2 separate regions of the Homo sapiens genome follow, and region 2 is linked to region 1. Evidence: promoter capture Hi-C in human tissues and cell types (Jung and others, 2019). All regions are on one chromosome and are shown on one strand. Each heading gives the region's core, a stretch centred on a gene start or on the middle of the fragment in contact. The rest is flanking DNA. Distances are from core to core; before and after follow the strand shown.

Region 1 (3,382 bases), core at 206-2,705:
TTTGCCCCTAAAATAAAAGCTAGGCCATTGCCATTCCCATCCGGGTACTCAAACCCCCTTCTTATCGGCGGTTCCTTGACTTGAACGTTGGAGGTTGAAAAACACAGGAGGAAAAAAAAATGTCCTTTAGTCAACTATCACGATTTGGGGGGTCGGACGGGAGGTGGTCGAGAGATATGCTTCTCGCTGGGGGAAAGGACCCATCGGTGATTTGGGGATGGGGGCAGGTACCGGGTGCAATGGGCTGAACAAGGGGAAGAACAACCAGGGGGCATTGAAAGGTGTCAGCTCACCCCACGGCTCTCCATCCACAGGTGAGCCTGCGAAGACACGGTGCCCTCCAGTGATACGGTGCTCTCCAGAGTCCTACTCCGCTCCTGACGGATGGGTACTGAGGTCAGGGAAGGAATGAACAGGCGTGGTCCACGATGACACCGTGGTTCTGCAGGAGGCTGAAGATGGAGAAGGCTGGTCTTAAGTCGACATCCCATCTTGAAGTTCTTGAGTAGGCACTTCTCAGCCAGCCTTGTTCAGTATCTCCTAAGGGCTGGCTTGGGACAGCACCGTGGAATCCTGGAGGTTCAAAAATCCAAGAACTCCACAAGGAACAGAGAAGTCGAAGGGGCAGGGCTCCAGTCACCAGCAGGCCCCACGAGGACAAAAGATCCATGAACCGGGGCCCAGAGGGCGCTACAGGGCCGTGCAGGAAGGGTTCCCGCGGCACCAAGGACCCTCAGGCCAACGCCCACAGGCCAGAGCTCCGAGGGCTGACAGGTCCAAGGGGGCGGGGCTGGCCTGGCTCCCAGCAGCCTCCACTGTTTCAGGATCCAGCCAGGGTGGAGTTCTGGGGGCCAGAAATTCCAAAGGGCTGGGTGACTGGAAGAGAGAGTTTAGGGACTTGGGTGGGATGGACCAGGAGGGTCAGGGGTGCGGGTGGTGAGCATCTCACGATGCTCAGCGCTTGACCCTGCGTCCGGCCGAGTTGCGCCCGCTGCGGCGGTAGAGGGACTGCTGGCCACCGTTAAGCGGGCAGTACTTGAGCGTATGGGCCTGGTCACCGGTGGCCCCGCACACGGGACACACGTAGTGCCTCAGGATGGGACACACCACCACGCCATCCGGTGTCTTCAGCTGGTGTGAGGAGTAGACGTGGCGGGACTCCCCGTTGTGCTTGCAGAAGTTGCACAGGGTCCCCAGGCCCCCGTTGGCCCCTGGCGCCCCCAGCCCCTGATCCTGCCCCAGCGGAGGCCCGGGACTTGGCTCCTCAATCTCTTGGGTCTCCAGCCTTTGACCCCGACTTGCGATCAGCGCCCACACCACCTGGCTCAGGTTGAAGTAGTCCTTCCACATGTCGAAGGGTGGCAGCTGCATGGCACCAAAGCAGGGGTGGTGGGCCACAGGAGAGGGGCTGGGGCTGGGGGCCCGTGGGCAAGGGCAAGAGCAGCAGGCGTTTCCCAGAGCAGAAGGGAGCTGCATCCCCTTTTATAACGCCCAGAGACTCTTCTAAGTAAAGGTGGAGCTTAGGATTTAAAGGGCTCACTCCCTGCCCATAACCCCCATCTGACTTTAGTTCTTCACAGAGATGTGGAAGGAGGTCATTCCCCTGATCTCTGGTCCCAGCTCTGCTGCCAAGGTGCTCTGTGACCTCTGGGAAGACACTTCCATTCTCTGTGCCTCAGTTTCCCTATCTGTTCAAAGAAAGTCCATGTCTGCAAATATCCCCCACCCCTAGGCTGGAGGGGCTGCACCCTTCATAGACTTCAGAGTTATTCCTAATCATCATAGCAGCCAGGCTGGGCGCAGTGCCTCACACCTGTAATCCTGGCACTTTGGGAGGCTGAGGAAAGAGGATCGCTTGAGCCCAGGACCTCTAGGCCAGCGTGGGCAAAATAGCGAGACCTTGTCTCTACAAAAAATAAAAAGACAAAAATAATAATAACAACATGACCTGATTTATTTTATTTATTTATTTACTTGAGACGGAGTCTTGCTATGTCGCCCAGGCTGGAGTGCAATGGCACGATCTCAGCTCACTGCAACCTCTGCCTCCTGGGTTCAAGTGATTCTCCTGCCTCAGCCTCCTGAGTAGCTGGGATTACAGGCGCCCACCACTAAGCCTGGCTAATTTTTTTTTTTTTTTTTTTTGTATTTTTAGCAGAGACAGGGTTTCACCATATTGGCCAGGCTGGTCTCGAACTCCTGACCTCAGGTGATCCACCTGTCTCTGCCTCCCAAAGCGCTGGGATTACAGGCGTGAGCCACCGCACCCGGCCTAGTATTTTCATTTTACAGAGAAAGATATGAAGCTTGGAGAGGTTAAGGAATGTATCCAAGGTCACACAACAAGGAAATGGCAGAGTCGGGTTTCATAATCACTCTGGGAACTGGGAATTGATGTTAAAAGTGGCAGAGGAACTTGGCACAGAACAATCTCACTTAGAATGCCCCCTCTTGGGCTAGGCATGCTGGCTCACGCCTGTAATCCTAATATTTTGGGAGGCTGAGGCTAGAGAATCACTTGAAGCCAGAAGTTTGAGACCAGCCTGGGTAACATAGTGAGACCCTGTTTCTACATATAATACAAAATCAGCTGGGCATGGTGGCATGTGCCTGTAATCCTAGCTAGTGAGGAGGCTGAGGCAGGAAGATCACTTGAGCCCAGGAGGTTTAGGCTTCAGTGAGCCATGATTGTGCCACTGCAGTCCAGCCTGGGCTACAGAGTGGACCCTGTCTTTTTTTTTATGAGATGGAGTCTTGCTCTGTCACCCAAGCTGTAGTGCAGTGGCACAATCTTGGCTTACTGCAATCTCCGCCTCCCAGGTTCAAGTGATTCTCCTGCCTCAGCCTCACAAGTAGTTGGGATTACAGGTGCCCACCACCACACCTGGCTAATTTTTTGTATTAGTAGAGATGGGATTTTGACATGTTGGACAAGCTGGTCTGGAACTCCTGACCTCAGGTGTGATTCACCTGCCTCGGTCTCCCAAAGTGCTGGGATTACAGGCATAAGCCACTGCGTCTGGCCAACCCTGTCTCTCTAAAAAAAAAAAAAAAATAGCCCTTTCTTGGCCCCATCCATTGTCTTAAATCCTTCCTGGCCTTTGGAACGAGCAAAAGCCTCATCTCCCGCCCACCGCACCTGGGGTTCTTCTTCCACCCACAGTCTCCATGGGCCACCTTGATATTCAACACATAGTTACTGAGGCTCCATATTGGGTGCTGGAAATTCAGCAGTGACCAAGGCTACCTTATGCCTGCTTCATGAACGAGTTCAGGAGAGCGACCAGTAAATGAGAAAACGCTAGACTGTAAAGACCTGCTGGCCTGTGAACCGGGTGTTCTAAGAGTGGCTGGCTCAGGAATGGGACTTGGAAGCTGAGAC
Region 2 (3,866 bases), core at 313-2,812, 130 kb after region 1:
ATCAATGCAAAAATGCTGAAAACTCAAAAAGCCAGAGTGCTTCTTCTCTTCCAAATGACCACAGTACCTCTCCAGCAAGGGCACAGAACTGGGCTGAGACCGAGATGGCTGAATTAACAGAAGTAGTTTTAAGAAGGTGGGTAATAGGCCAGGCGCAGTGGCTCACACCTTTAATCCCAGCACTTTGGGAGGCCGAGGCAGGTGGATCACGAGGTCAGGAGTTAGAGACCAGCCTGACCAACATGGTGAAACCCCCTCTCTACTAAAAATACAAAAGTTAGCTGGGCATGGTGGCACATGCCTATAATCCCAGATGCTGAGGAGGCTGAGGCAGGAGAATCGCTTGAACCCGGGAGGCAGAGGTTACAGTGAGCTGAGATCGCGCCACTGCACTCCAGCCTGGGTGACAAGAGTGAAACTCTGTCTCAAAAAAAAAAAAGAAAAAGATGGGTAATAATGAACTTCACTGAGCTAAAGGAGGATGTTGTATCCCATTGCAAATAAGCTAAGAATCATGATAAATTATACAGGAGCTGACAGAATAGCCAGTTTAGAGAGGAACATAACTGACCCAATGGAACTGGAAAACACAAGAACTTCACAATGCAATCATAAGTATCAGTTACAGAATAGTTCAAGCAGAGGAAAGAATTTCAGAGCTTAAAGACCGTCCTTCTGAAATTATACAGGCAGACAAGAATAGAGAAAAAAGAACAAAAAGAACTGAACAAAACCTCTGAGAAATATGTAAAGAGACAGAATCTATGACTGATTGGGGTACCTGAAAGAGACAGGGAAATTGGAACCAAGTTGGAAAACATACTCCAGGATATCATCCAGGAGAACTTCCCCAAACTTGCAAGACAGGCCAACATTCAAATTCAGTAAATACAGAGAACCCCAGTGAGATACTCCATAAGAAGATTTACCCCAAGACATATAATCAGCAGATTCTTCATTGTCGAAATGAAAGAAAAAATGTTAAGGGCAGCCAGAGAGAAAGGCCAGGTAACCTACAAAGAAAAGCCCATCAGACTACCAGCGGACCTCTCAGTGGAAATCCTACAAGCCAGAAGAGATTGGGGGCCAATATTCAACATTCTTAAAAGAATTTCCAACCCAGGATTTCATATCCAGCCAAACTAAGCTTCATAAGTGGAGAAATAAGGTCCTTTTCAGACAAGCAAATGCTGTGGGAATTCGTCACCACCAAGCCTGCCTTGCAAGAGCTCCTGAAGGAAGCAATAAATATGGAAAGGGAAAACCTTTACCAGCCACTACAAAAACACACTGAAATACACAGACAAGTAACACTATGAAGCAACCAACAAAACAAGTCTGTAAAATAACCAGCTAGCATCATGATGACAGGAACAAATTCACACATAACAATACTAACCTTAAATGTAAGTGGGCTAAATTCCTGAATTAAAAGACACAGAATGGCAAGTTGGATAAAGAGCCAAGACCCATTGATATACTGTCTTCGAGAGACCCATCTCACATGTGGGACACACATAGGCTCAAAATAAAGGGATGGAGGAGAAATTTATCAAGGAAATGGAAAACAGAAAAAAGCATGGGTTGCAACCCTAGTTTCTGACCAAACAGACTTTAAACCAACAAAAATCCAGAAAGACAAAGAAGGGTGTTACATAATGGTAAAGGGATCAATTGGACAAGAAGAGCTAAGTATCCTAAATATATATGCATCCAATACAGGAGAACCCAGATTCATAAAGCAAGTTCTTACAGATCTACAAGAGACTTAAGACTCCCACACAACAATAGTGGAATACTTTAACACCCACTGTCAATATTAGATCATCGAGACAGAAAATTAACAAAGATATTCAGGACCTGAACTCAGCTCTGGATCAAGTGGACCTGATAGATATCTACAGAACTCTCTACCCCAAACAACAGAATATACATTCTTCTCATTGCCACATGGCACTCACTCTAAAATTGATCACAAAATCAGAAGTAAAACACTCCTCGCAAAAGCAAAAGAACTGAAGTCATAACAAACAGTCTCTCAGACCACAGCACAACAAATTAGAAATCAAGATTTAAAAATTCACTCAAAACCACACAACTACATGGAAACTGAACAATCTGCTCCTGAATAACTCTTGGGTAAATAATGAAATCAAGGCAGAAAGCAAGAAATTCTTGAAACTAATGAGAACTAAGAGACAATGTACCCGATTCTCTGGGACACAGCTCAAGTGGTGTTAAGAGGGAAATTTATAGCAATAAATAACCCACATCAGAAAGCTAGAAAGATCTCAAGTTAACAACCTAACATCTCAACTAAAAGAACTAGAGAACCAAGAGCAAACCAACCCCAAAGCTAGCAGAAAACAAGAAATAACCAAGATAAGTTATTGGTTAACAGAAATAAGCAATAACTGAAGGAGATAGAAACACAAAAAGCCCTTCAAAAAATTAATGAATCCAGGAGCTGTTTTTTTGAAAAAATTTATAAAATAGATAGACTGCTAGCCAGACTAATGAAGAAGAAAAGAGAGAATAATCAAATAAACATAATCAGAAATGACAAGGGAGATATTACCACTGACCCCACGGAAATATAAACAAACATCACAGAATACTATAAACACCTTTATGCACATAAACTAGAAAATCTAGAAGAAATGGATACATCCCTAGACACATACACCCTCCCAAGACTAAACCAAGAAGAAACTGAATCCCTGAATAGACCAATTATGATTTCCGAAATTGGGGGGTAATAAATAGCCTACCAACCAAAAAAAGCCCAAAGTTGGAAGCATTCACAGCTGAATTCTACCAGAAGTACAAAGATCTGGTACAATTTCTACGGAAACTATTCCAAAAAATTGAAAGTGAGGGATTCCTCCCTAATTCATCCTATGAGCCCAGCATCATCCTGATACCAAAACCTGGCAGAGATACAACAAAATAAGAAAACTTCAGGCCAATATCCTTGATGAACATCAATGCAAAAAACCTCAGTAAAATACTGGCAAACCAAATCCAGCAGCACAGCAAAAAGCTTATCCACCATGACCACATTGGCTTCATCCCTGGGATGCAAGGTTGGTTCAACATACGCAAAGCAACAAATGTGATTCATCGTATAAACAGAACTAAAAACAAAACACACATGATTATCTCAATAGATGCAGAAAAGGCTTTTGATAAAATTTAAACATCCCTTTATGTTAAAAACTCTCAATAAACTAAGTATTGAAGGACCGTACCTCAAAATAATAGAAGCCATATATGACAAACTCACAGCCAATATCATACTGAATGGGTAAAAGCTTGAAGCATTCCCCTTGAAAACTGGCACAAGACAAAAATGCCCTCTCTCACCACTCCTATTCAACATAGTATTGGAAGTTCTGGCCAGGGCAATTAGGCTAGAGAAAGAAATAAAGCGTATTCAAATAGGAAGAGAGGAAGTCAAATTATCTTGTTTGCAGATACATAATCCTATATCTAGAAAAACCTCATCATCTCAGCCCAAAAGCTTCTTAAGGTGATAAGCAACTTCAGCAGTCTCAGGATACCAAATCAATGAGCAAAAATTGCTAGCATTCCTATACACCAACAACAGGCAAGCAGAGAGCCAAATCACGAATGAACTCTCATTCACAATTGCTACAAAAAGAATAAAATACCTAAGAATACAGCTAACAAGGAAAGTGAAGGACCTCTTCAAGGAGAACTACAAATCACTGCTCAAAAAAAATCAGATAGGACACAAATAAATGGAAAAACACTCTATGCTCATGGATGTGAAGAATGAATACTGTGAAAATGGCCATACTGCTCAAAGTAACTTATAGATTCAATGCTATTCCCATTAAACT

The links. Contacts are between HindIII fragments. The study calls those that stand out against the background at their distance.
Region 2: a fragment that was not itself captured here is called in contact with the fragment with the promoter of NANOS2 in region 1 in 1 of the 25 tissues and cell types used here (IMR-90 fibroblasts).

The regions. Positions count from the first base shown.
Region 1 is chr19:45,913,323-45,916,704 of GRCh38, forward strand. NANOS2 (nanos C2HC-type zinc finger 2) reads right to left here and starts at 1,456. Exons shown (of 1, transcript NM_001029861.3): 1 at 1-1,456. The coding sequence starts at 1,371. The coding sequence ends at 955. The HindIII fragment of the contact is 8,608 bases long and covers 1-3,382 here.
Region 2 is chr19:46,045,017-46,048,882 of GRCh38, forward strand. It overlaps a transcript of IGFL4 not described here. Among named protein-coding and RNA genes, the nearest start is that of IGFL4, 5.9 kb to the left of the region's middle. The HindIII fragment of the contact is 3,232 bases long and covers 1-3,178 here.